3 separate regions of the Homo sapiens genome follow, and all the other regions are linked to region 1. The links are contacts of gene promoters, found by promoter capture Hi-C in blood cells and fetal thymus (Javierre and others, 2016). All regions are on one chromosome and are shown on one strand. Each heading gives the region's core, a stretch centred on a gene start or on the middle of the fragment in contact. The rest is flanking DNA. Distances are from core to core; before and after follow the strand shown.

What was found. The method cuts DNA at HindIII sites, captures the fragments that hold promoters and counts their contacts. A CHiCAGO score of 5 or more calls a contact.
Region 2: the fragment with the promoter of KBTBD7 here is called in contact with the fragment with the promoter of WBP4 in region 1 in 16 of 17 cell types (neutrophils, non-activated CD4 T cells, erythroblasts and 13 more); the score reaches 12.4 in neutrophils.
Region 3: a contact is called between the fragment with the promoter of MTRF1 here and the fragment with the promoter of WBP4 in region 1, in 1 of 17 cell types (naive B cells). The highest score is 5.3, in naive B cells.

The regions. Positions count from the first base shown.
Region 1 is chr13:41,059,596-41,063,392 of GRCh38, forward strand. WBP4 (WW domain binding protein 4) reads left to right here and starts at 1,914. Exons shown (of 10, transcript NM_007187.5): 1 at 1,914-2,080; 2 at 3,049-3,121. The coding sequence starts at 2,079. TRE-TTC1-2 (tRNA-Glu (anticodon TTC) 1-2) reads right to left here and starts at 1,214; the gene lies at 1,143-1,214. It also overlaps a transcript of ELF1 not described here. RefSeq lists a silencer at 529-708. The HindIII fragment of the contact is 8,920 bases long and covers 1-3,797 here.
Region 2 is chr13:41,192,317-41,195,868 of GRCh38, forward strand. It overlaps KBTBD7 (kelch repeat and BTB domain containing 7), which reads right to left and starts at 2,253. Exons shown (of 1, transcript NM_032138.7): 1 at 1-2,253. The coding sequence starts at 1,941. The region is part of intron 3 of KBTBD6-DT (KBTBD6 divergent transcript); the gene reads left to right. RefSeq lists enhancers at 995-1,702, 1,703-2,409, 1,754-2,023, 2,334-2,423. The HindIII fragment of the contact is 3,616 bases long and covers 1,379-3,552 here.
Region 3 is chr13:41,261,719-41,265,778 of GRCh38, forward strand. It overlaps MTRF1 (mitochondrial translation release factor 1), which reads right to left and starts at 1,858. Exons shown (of 10, transcript NM_004294.4): 1 at 1,767-1,858. RefSeq lists an enhancer at 1,276-1,776 and a silencer at 2,064-2,153. The HindIII fragment of the contact is 4,724 bases long and covers 1-3,393 here.

The DNA.
Region 1 (3,797 bases), core at 664-3,163:
AGTCACTTTTTCCTTCTTCGTTTGTTCCCAGAGGCCCAATAAACATTATAGCCGACCCTATTTTCTAATTTCAGCTTGCATTTAAGATAACGCTTTTGTTTCATTTACAGCTCACATGCTGCTGACACAGCTGTCCCTTCTTTGTAATAAACACAGGGCTTCTATATTTAAAAATACAGTGAAACTTTGTTTTAACGTCCCCTCCCCAGTCTCCAGCCAATTTTCTCTTTCCCAAGCCCCACCTCCACCCCAGGATGTTTTGCCGTTGTTTTAATCAATTTTTTTCTTTAAATCAACCGCGCTCAAAATGTTAGACCCTTTGGAAAGTCGATATACTTATTTAAAGCCATCTCATCAGAGTGGTATTTTTCTCCTCCATAGCTCGTGGTGTGTATTTTTAAAGGGAAAGAAAAAAGATTCTCGTTCCCAAAGGCCTTTTTTCGAGGGTACTTTCCGTGACTGCGACCAGCGCCCCTTAAGTCAAGTTGGGAAGACCTCGCAGGCCGGCCTCGCGCTTGCTCAGGCGCCGCGGGTGGAGACGCGAGCGCACACGCGGCGGAAAGGGGCGCCGGGCGGCTGCGCGGCCGGGAAAGCGCGTCCCCCCGGGAGGGCGCGGAAGGCACACTGTGTTCCGTGGGGCCTCGTAAATACCCTGCGGCCAGAGAACCACTAGAGCTACTGGTCCGGGCGCGGGCTCTGGGGCGCCCAGGGCAGGGGGGTCAGCCCGTCCTGCATAGGAAGAGTCGCAAGAGCGGCTGAAGAGGGTGTGGGCCGGACGGGGGCGCTGGGAGGAGATAACGCAAGGCCGGAGTTAATCATCACCTCCCGGGCGTCTGGAAAACTACGGGCCGGAGGGGCGGGGGAGCAGCCCAGGGGAAAGTGAAACTCCCTCAGGGCCCACCAGCCCCGTGAGCCGGAGGCGGGAGGGAGAAGGATCGGAAGCGCATTCGCTTCTCCAGCAGGCACGGCGTGGCACTCGAGGCTCCAAAAGCCGCAGCCCAGCTCCTGGCGCCACTAACTACAGTAATGCTTATTTTCTACAAACTCACCCAGACGGGGACAAGAAAGGAGCCAGAACACAAGATTTAAAAAGTCAGCCCTCCAAACCGATAGTTGCAAAAAAAAAGAAAAATAAGGAAGCGTTCCCATACCGGGAGTCGAACCCGGGCCACCTGGGTGAAAACCAGGAATCCTAACCGCTAGACCATATGGGAAGTGCTATGAGAAACTGCCGTGACCCACCTGACAAGCATAAGTGCCTCTGCCTCCTTCGCCGCACCTCTCGCCACCGCCGCCTCTGCGCTACTGAAGCTGCTGCTGCCGCCGCCGCCGCCGCCGCCGCCGCCGCCGCTGCTGCTGCCCACACGCTCCCGAGCTAGGGAACAAGCCCCATCCGAGCGCGTGGGCGTCGTAGGGGAGAGGAGGGGCGGGGCCGCTCCGCTGCAACAGCAAAGTTTGAGGCGAAGCCTAGCGACTCGCAGCGCCGGTCCCGCAGTTTCACCTCTTTTTTTTTTAACTCCGCCAGAGGACCCCGACCCACAGGTCCCGGTTGCTCCGCTGGTCAAAGTGCGTGCGGAGTAGTTGGCAAAGTTGAGAGCGGAGACGTCTCTGGGAACAGCTGTTTGCGTTCCGGGCGGAGGCGGCGCGCTGAGCTCCTTGGCCTTGAGCCAGCGAGCCTAGAAGGAGGATGGAGGTTTTGGGCCCCAGGGGAGGACACAGAGACGGCGGGATGGCGCAGGGACTTGAGGCTTGAGATCCCGTCCTTCAGCTCAGGTCCCGTCGCGCTTTTACCCCTTCCCGGTGACCTCAACCCCTTTATACCGACCCCACCTCTTTGGAGCCGGGAGTACCGCCCCTGTAGGGGGAGGGGAGAGGAGGCGATTTCGAACGCGGATTGGATCGTCTGGGCACCCGTAGTTGGGAACAGCGGAACGCTGGTCCCGGGGACTGAGTAAGGTGTCTGGATCGGAGGGAGGTTCGGGTGGGCATCGGGCGGCTGGAAGAGCTCGACTCGTCCCGCTGGGAAAGCGCGAGTCTGAGTGGAACCCTGGACGACTTGCAGAGCGGCTGGCGCAGTCATGTGAGTTGGGTCTCAGGCCCTGAACAACGAGGTGTTGTTTCTCTGGGCCGCCCTTTCTCGCCCGGGTCTTCCCCTCCTCTCCTCCCGCCCTTCGGCCGGGGGCGTGACAGACGCGTTCTTAACTCGCTCGGGACCGGCCCCAGACCTGCAGGGCCGGTTCTCAGGGCGGGGTAGAAATGTTACCCCGCTGAACGCCCTGGGGTATGGGGCACGGGCTCTAGGGGGAGGCCGGCGGCCGGTTCAGGGGGCTGGTTGGACGGCCGCGGGTGAAGCGACGCAGTGCTCTCTCTACGACGCTGTCGGGGGTCGCATGCACCCCTTGGGTTTCCGAAGCCCCTGAACCCTAGGGTATTGTGAAACTAGGGCTGGGCTGCGGCCTCCCCCGCCCACTGGAAGCGGCCAGCCCTGGATAGCGTAATGGTTTTTTTTTTTTTTTTTTTTTTTTTTTTGTCGGCCGTCTACGAAGTCCCATGGCTTTTCCAGTTCTCTCTTGCCTTGAGGCTCAAGAACAGTTTGTTTTAACTGAGAGTCTGGGAGGAACTACAGTTTTCCCCAGAGTAGTCTTGTACGTTGTTCTCTTGGTGGGAATAACTTGATTTAAGGCAAACTTTATGAGTTTCTTCAGGTTTCCATTACAGCAACCTCCCCCAAAGCCAGAAAGGATAAATGTTCTTCTAAGATGTTCCTTAGTTTTTCATAACGATGACGATAACAAGTGAGGAATTTTTGAAAGCCATTTTATTGAAGGGAGTTTTGTAATGAATCAGATACAGACTTTTTCTACTCCGCTGGCAACAGAATTTCAATTGACTGTGCTCCAACCAGATAAATAATAAAACGACTATACATAACAAGACAAGATTCAGTAGCAGGGGCATATATTTCAAACTTTAAAAACTGTAAAGCATGCAGAATTTAACCTTTTTTAAGTTTTACATGAGCTTAGCCTTGTTGTCTCTCTTTTTCAGGGCGGACTACTGGAAGTCACAGCCAAAGAAATTCTGTGATTACTGCAAGTGCTGGATAGCAGACAATAGGCCTGTATGATAATTCCGCTGTTAGAGATTCTAATAATAATTGTGTTGAATGAAGTGCTCCTTTTTGATGTAAACTCAGTTTACAAAGCACTTTTATGTACATTGCTCTTGCATTTTCAAAACATCAGAAGATTTCTGTCTTCTCAGTCCCCTATGAAAGCTGTGAGCCTTCTTCCTTTTCATCAACCTGACTTTGATTATATATTAAATTATTTCTCTGTGGCCTTTTGGGAAATGGGCAATGAGTTGGTCATATCATTCATGTTATGAAGCACCTATATTATAATGGTGGTGTTCATAATACTGTCATACCCAAAGAATTGTGGAAAGCCCTTAAAAAATAAAAGCAACATGTTTAGTTTTTCTTGTATATTTTGTGGTCTAGAAATAATCAAGTGTATTTAATGCAGAGCTGTGTATCTTTAGATGCTTAAATTTGAAAGAACACCATTATTTCCTTTCTCATGAAACAAAGTAACAACTCTGTTAGGTATGTTGTTAGTCTGTCTCATAGTTGAGATCCAGTTTTGAAGATGTAAAGCAAAAAGCACACCGCTGATTTTTCTCCCCTCTTGCATGTCAAAATACTATGTACATACCACATAAACACTAGGGTATCTGTTAAATATATTTTATGTTGATACCGTTTTTACTTGGCAAAGTTGGATGCACAAAGAATA
Region 2 (3,552 bases), core at 1,003-3,502, 130 kb after region 1:
ATCTAAGTCCCATTCAGTACTAGACTCACTCCGTGCATCATCTTCCTCAGTAATAAAACTCTGACCAGGTTCAAGGCAGGAAGGATAAACACGAGCACAAAGGCAAATAAAGCCAGAGTCAAACTGCAAAAGGCCTAACATGGTACCTATATTAATCCACTGATCTTCCCTAGTATCATACTCATACACTGTCACTCGGTTCTTTTTCCATTGTGGGGTTGTAGAAGTGATGAGAAGCAACTTTTGGTCATGATTGACAATCTGGTAGTTGTGGGTCTCTGAATCCAAAGGAATATTACTAATCCGCCTCCATTCTCCCCTAGCTGGGTTGTAGACCTTCATGACTGGGATGTCACAGATACAATAGATTTCATCATTGAAGACACATGCTTCCTGAAAGTCACTACGTTTAAGAGAAGCACAGTTCAGCCACATATTGTGGCTAGGATCATAGCAAAGCATGCGCTTACTGTTGACAGCATAAAGATAGTTCTGAACCACTATGAGTTCAAAGGAATAGAAGGAATGAGGGACAGGAGCCACCAATGCCCACTGGTTTCTCTGAACACTGTAGCATTCCACTTCCTTCAACTTAACTCCAGTAATAGGGTCTCGTCCCCCCAAAATGTAGATGTAGCCATTGAGATATGCCACATCCATGCCCTCACGACACAGCAAGCGATCTGCAAGTTGCTGCCAACTATTCTGAGCTGGTTTATACACCCAGAGGTCTTTCCTGGGCTGAGCAGCTAGATAGATGTCATGGTCTGGGGACACACAGACAGCTGAGGAGGTGACAGTCTTAGTGTGAGCAAAGCTGGTCAAAGGGGATGGCATTGTGTAAATGTCCCCCGAGTAAGGGTCATAGCAGAGAAAGGGATCTCTAGGATGTCCAAAGAAGATCACCATCTCCTTGGCACACATACCCAGTCTCTGGGGTGGATTTTCTGCTGCAGATACAAGAGAGTTGCTGCTGCTACTGCTGCTGCTGCTGTTTGGCACTGGCACCAGAGACTTGTACAACAGGTCACCATAGCGCATCTGCAGGGCCCCTTCAATAACGTCCAGGCAGTACTTCTTCACGATGGGCTTGGTCAGCAGCCCTTCTAAGTAGTCCTGATCTTCTTCAGTGAAGTGCATCCAGCGCACGCACTTGAAGACTTCTGCAGCACTGGGACCCCGCTCTTTGGCAGCAGCCTCCAGCCACTGCACAGCTACATGGCATACAGTCCGCTCACTCTCTATGTCCAGACTATCCAGGCGTAGGACAGCCAGCAGCTGGGCCAGGGTTAGATCTGCTAGAGTCTCCTCCCGAATTGAACCCATTCGGCTGAGCTGCTTGAAGTTGTGAGCTATGTAGGACTGGGCCTGAGATCGAAGCTTGTGATGGTCGAAGGCGTCTGCAAACTTGAGGATGGCGGTGCAGTTGGTCAGGTCAAGACGTCGGGCTAAGAAGGAGGCACAGGCTTCCCGCACATATTCCAGCTGTAGCATGTCGGAGGCCGCGTACAGGCGCTGCACATTGGCCTCACTGAGAGACACACGACCCGTGTAGCAGTAGTCGACCAACACCTCGAAGGACTCGGCGTCCACATCGTGCATGGTCACGCTGGCCTGCTGGCTCTCGTACATGCCACCTGTGAACATGCTCTTGAAGTAGGGACACGCAGCTGCTAGCACGTTGCGATTGCAGGAAAAGAGGCGACCCGTGCCAGGCCCGCTGCCAGGCGTCACCACCTCGATGGTCACATCACACAGCAGCCGCGCGTCGTAGAAGGACTTGAGCTGTGCCAGCAGGGCTGCAGAATGGGCCGTGTCCTTTAACTCCTCTGGACCCGTGAAAAAGGCCGAAACCGAGGGCTTGGAAATCCTCTTGGGCCGCCTCCCACCACGGGGACTGGCGAGGCGGCGAGAGCGCGGGACGTCTTCCCGGGACTGCATGGTGGAGATGGCGACGGGCGCTGACGGCGAGAAAGGCTGCAGGACCAGGCTCTGGCTCCTCCTCAACCTTCCCTCGCTGACGCTAAGACAAGCCGCGTCCTGGAACAGACTGCGGCACGGGCCGCACTTCTGAATTCAGCCCTATCCCGCGGTGAGGCCTCCCTTTATTGCATAGACAGTGGCTGACTCACCCTCTCTCACTCCCGCGCCCTTTCTCCGCCTCCGCTCGCCCTCACAGGACCCGCTGGCTTGCAGCCGCGGAAGCCCCCACTGCCGCGCTGGCGATCCCGCTAGGCGCCCGGGAGAACTACTGCTCCCAGGTTGCCTTTCGCGCCCCGAGGCCTGCTGGGGCTCTCGGACGGCCGGGCGGGGACAGAGGGAAAGAAACCGCTTTGCATGTTGGGAGTAGTAGTTTGTGTAATATCGCGAGCTGTCCTTTAGTTGACTGCTCTAACAGTAGAAATTAATTCTCCTGGATTTGATGGTGAAGAGACTGTTGCCCAGGCTGGTCTTGAACTCCTGAGGGCTCAAATTATCCTCCTGCCTCGGCCTCTCAATGTGCTGGGATTACAGGCGTGAGCCACCGCCCCCTGCCAGTATTTCATAGGGTTTTGTGTGGTTCAATGATACCTTACATGGGATACTTAGATACATGTATGTTTTTGGTTAGAAGAATAGTAAAGCGTTACCCCGTGCCTAGAATGTAGCCAATAACTGTTAGATTCTCTTTTATAATTTATGATAAATGAGGCACCCACTAATTTGAAACCGAGTATTATTTTAAACCGCAAAATTTTACAAAGAATTTCTAGTTTTTAATGTTTATTCCTTCGAAAGATTTTGAAGGGCATTAACAATATTTTCAATATTAAATGATATCTATTGGTCTCGTTTAATAAGGATGTCTTAGACGACTAGGTTGAGGTCCTAAAGAACAGTATTAATAGATGGTCTCAAATACGCAAATCCAGCATATAAAAATAAATTATTTGCTGCTCTCACTAACATTTCATCTCTGGAGAGCAGGAGTATTTTCGTTAAGCTCCAAATATGAGTGTTTTCAAGTCGTCTAATACAGCCTCTTTCACTGCCGTTCCACAAATCAATTAACAGATTATGTAATTCCCTTTATTAAGGAGTTTTAGGGAGTATTTTAACTCAAAATATTTCAACAAACAGACTTTGTTCTGTACAAAAGCACATGATTCTCAGAATTCAACATCAGTACATGCCCTGACATTCCTTGAATTAATATATAGTATAGTCTATGCTTTACAAAGTCTTTTATATTTGCATTGGGATCAACAGTTAAATCATCAAAATCAAGTATTAGAGATTTGAGGCAGGAAAATAGGGTCTGGAGGCAGGGAACATAAGGCTGATTCACACTTTAGCTATAACAGGAAAGATCCTCTCCATAGGGTGTATGCTGAGTAAATGAGTTTGTAACTTTACTTCATTCTCTTCATTTACATAGGGTGTACACCAAGTAACCAGTGGAATCCTCTAGAGGGTATTTAAACCTTCAGAAATTCTGTAACAGGGCCCTTGAGCCCCTATGCTCAGGCCCGCTCCCCACTGTGGAGTGTACTTTCATTTTCAGTAAATCTC
Region 3 (4,060 bases), core at 608-3,107, 200 kb after region 1:
GGAGACAGAGCTGGTATTAGAATGTAAGTTGCCTGTTCAGGACTCAGTAATTTTCACTCTCAATTGTGCAATCACTTTTCAAAAATGCTTCCCGTTTAGCTGAGATCCTAAAGGAAGAAAAGTTCAAGTATTAATAGACCAAGAAAGTAGGGCTGGTGAAAAGCTCTACAGTTATATTAAATGGTGACAATTATATTAAGCAAGAAAGGCAAGGAACAAAATAGAATCTCAATTACATTTAAAAAATATTCTACAATATAAGGTATACATGTAAAAAAAAAAAAGCACATAGAGTATTTTTTAAAAAGAAAGTTAAATAAGAAACATACCAAAATGTGCCGAGCACAGTGGCTCACGCCTGTAATCCTACCACTTTGGGAGGCCGAGGCGGGCAGATCATCTGAGGTCAGGAGTTCGAGACCAGCCTGGCCAACATGGGAAAACCCCATCTCTACTAAAAATACCAAAAAAATTAGCTGAGCGTGATGGCACACACCTGTAGTCCTAGCTGCTCGGGAAGCTGAGGCAGGATAATCGCTTGAACCTGGGAGGCGAAGGTTGCAGTGAACTGAGATCGCACCACTGCAACCAGCGTGGGCGACAAAGCAACACGCTGTCTCAAAAAAAAAAAAAAAAAAAGAAACATACCAAAATGTTAATAAAATGATCTCTAGTTGTGAGATTATGAATACCTTTTGCTTGCTATTTTTTCTACTTTTCAGTGTTTTCCAAGTTTCTTGCACATGTAGCATGGAATACTTTCCTAATCATAAAAAAAGATTAGTTTAAAAAATTACAGGTTAGGTGAAATTGGCTGTGTACAATAATTTTCTGTTCTCCTCCCCTCCAACAGAGATAATCAAGAGCTAACAAAAGTACACAATGGTCTTACTGAGTAAGAAAGGGAGAATATAAAGTGTTCTAAGAAAACTCTAAGGTTCAAAGTTGAAATAAGGGTCAAGCCACGCACAGTAGCATGCACCTATTGTCCCAGCTACCCAGGAGACTGAGGCAGGAGGATCACTTGAGCCAAGGAGTTCAAGGCCAGCCTGGGCAACACAGTGAGACTCAACTCAAAAAAAGAAGGATCAACATTTATCAAAATCAAACTTTACTGTCTCCAGTGATCCTACTATGCTAGGAGGTGCATTGATATATTAGCTCATTTGTTCACTATAAGTCTGTTAACTTAGCATTATCACCTAGGAAATAAAATAGTCAGAATGGTCTTTAAAATATTCAGTTTCCAGAGTTCTACTGATAGATTTTAGGATACTGCATCACATTATTAAAAGAACTGTTGAAGAAAGCACCAATGGCCAGCTGTCACAAACGTTACACTCCACCACCCCCGTATTTCAAGCACGTTAGAGAAAGTGTATCCATTTGCTAACAGACAGAATAAAAGGATGACAAATATATGTTTGTACGAATACTTATTGCTAAAATTTCCATTTTAGGAACAGTAGTAGAATGCATAATTTTCAAGGTCATGAATCTCAACATTAAGGAAAACAAAACAAAACAAGATGTTTACTCTCCAAGGTTAACTACACCTGAGAACAGCACGACTTCTCCATTACCCATCACAGTAACAGTATTACTCTGATGCTTTGGGGAAAGTTCTGAGTGTAGGCAGGTCAGAAGCGACAGCCCGCGGGGCAGCAGCACGGGCAAACCATGCTGTGTAACTCAGTATATGGAGTGATTCCATAAAGAGGCAATACAGGAGGCGGCGGGGAAGATCAGGAAAGAACTGTGAGTACCTAAGAAAAAGAAGAATACACGTTAGCTCTCTTTACTGAGGTCGGAACCTTCCGAGACCCGCCACATTTCAGCCCGACAAACCCGAGATCACGTTCACTTCCTGGTTCACTTCTTCCGGGTTAACGCACGCTCCCGGCCCCTCCTCCGCCACTACCGCTCTCCGGAGGAGTTGTCCTCGAGCATGCCTAACAATGGACTAAAATGACAAAAATGAGCTAAATGAGAAAAATGACAAAACGAGAATGAAATTGTCATCAGACAACCGCCCCCGCGCCGTCCTTATCCAGAGCGTGAGCCCAGAGCGGGGATGGAGATGGTGGGAGGGAGGGAGGGAGGGAGGGGCCAAGGTGGGACTAAACTACAACTCCCAGAGCGCCCACCAAAGAATCCTGGGAGTTGTAGTTTACCTTGCGGCAGCCTCCAACCCCCTCCACTCACTATCCAGCCAAATGTGGAGTTTTTGGTTTTCACCGTTAACTGCAAACCTAGAAGAGAGATTCTTTACGATTCTGATTAAGAGATCAAGATTTAGAACACATTGCATGTGAAATTACAATAATTTCCTTATGTATTAGAAGCCCGTAAAGCACTGTTTTCCAATATTTAAAAAAAATAAAGACTCCTTTTACATCATCCACAAATGTAGAAGATTCTGCGTGTAATTTCTATACTTTCAGCTTCCATTGCTTCAGAAAATACCTAATGACTAAAGGATAATACAAATAAATTTATATTTTAAAAGTAGTAACAGCCCCAAAAGTTAGGAGACCGTGTATTTCCACATGTTAGTGATTTTATAATGTTCTTTGCACATGGGAATGTAGGGGCTCAACCTAGATTCATAGCTTATGAACCACTGATTAAGTGAAGAATGAAAACTCCAGTTAATAAACAATTGCAGGAAAATGCAAGCATATTGTCCTACTTTGACTAATCCAGTGGGATCCAGCCCTTGGCTATCGCAATTTACAGTCTTTCTATCTCCATGCCTCAATTTTTCTTCCTGAAAGAAAAGGCAAAAAATGTACCATATTACTGACTTTACAGAGTATTTTCTTAGATTATAATCACATACATAGATAGGAGAATTAGCTATATATGCAAAATAATATCTAACGTTTATAGCCAACTTCAAGGTACCTACTTCTATGTACTATGTACTAAATACTGTTCTAAATGGTTTTACCCTATTAATTCATTTAATTTTTACAACCTTAAAATACTTATTTTGCAGAGGAGAAAATTAAGGCACACAGAGCTAAAGTAACTACTCCAAGGTAAAAAACAGTAAGTGATAGAGCCAAGACTCAATTAAGGCAATGGCTTTAATGATCTGTGGCTCCTAAGCTCTGATATAGGGCCACCCTGCTCCAAAAAAGAAAAAACCTTCAATCATGTATTCAATAAATAGTGAACACCAGTTATGTGCTATTCACTATTCTAGTCATGAGGATTTAGCAATGAACAGAAAAGACAAAAACCTTTGCCCACATGGAGCTTATGTTCCAGTAGGGGAAAAGTTTCAAAGGGTCTACATAAAGTCATTCTCCTAAGTTATCCAAAAAGTTCTTTAATTATTTATTCTGATTTGTGCTTTCAGCTATATAACTTGAGTATTATATATAAAGCTTTATTCTCCTTAAAAAATTAGTCTTAGTCGGGCGTGGTGGTTCACGCCTGTAATCCTAGCACTTTGGGAGGCCGAGCCAGGTGGATCACCTGAGGTCAGGAGTTCGAAACCAGCCTGACCAACATGGAGAAACCCCATCTCTACTAAAAATACAAAATTAGCTGGGCGTGGTGGCTCATGCTTGTAATCCTAGCTACTCGGAGGCTGAGGCAGGAGAATCGCTTGAACCCAGGAGACAGAGGTGGCAGTGAGCCAAGATTGCACCATTGCACTCCAGCCTGGGCAACAAGAGTGAAACTCCGTCTCAAAAAAAAAAAAAAGTAGTCTTACTGCTATGGACTGAATTGTTTATATTCATAATCATGTGCATATTACTAATATTTATTTTTAAAATTCATATATTGAAGCCCTAACCCCTCCAATACATGTGTCTGTATTGGAGATAGGGCCTTTAAGGTGATTAAGGTCAGATGAGGTCGTAAGAGTAGAGCCCTGACATAATAGGATTAGTGCCTTTCTAAAAAGGCACCAGAGATCTTGCTCACTGTCCCTGCCCAAACAAAGAAGAGGTTACGTGAGTACACTGTGAGATGGTGGCCACCTACAAGCCAAGAGAAGAGGTATCAGACTGAAACCTACATTGCTGCCACCTTGATGTTAGAC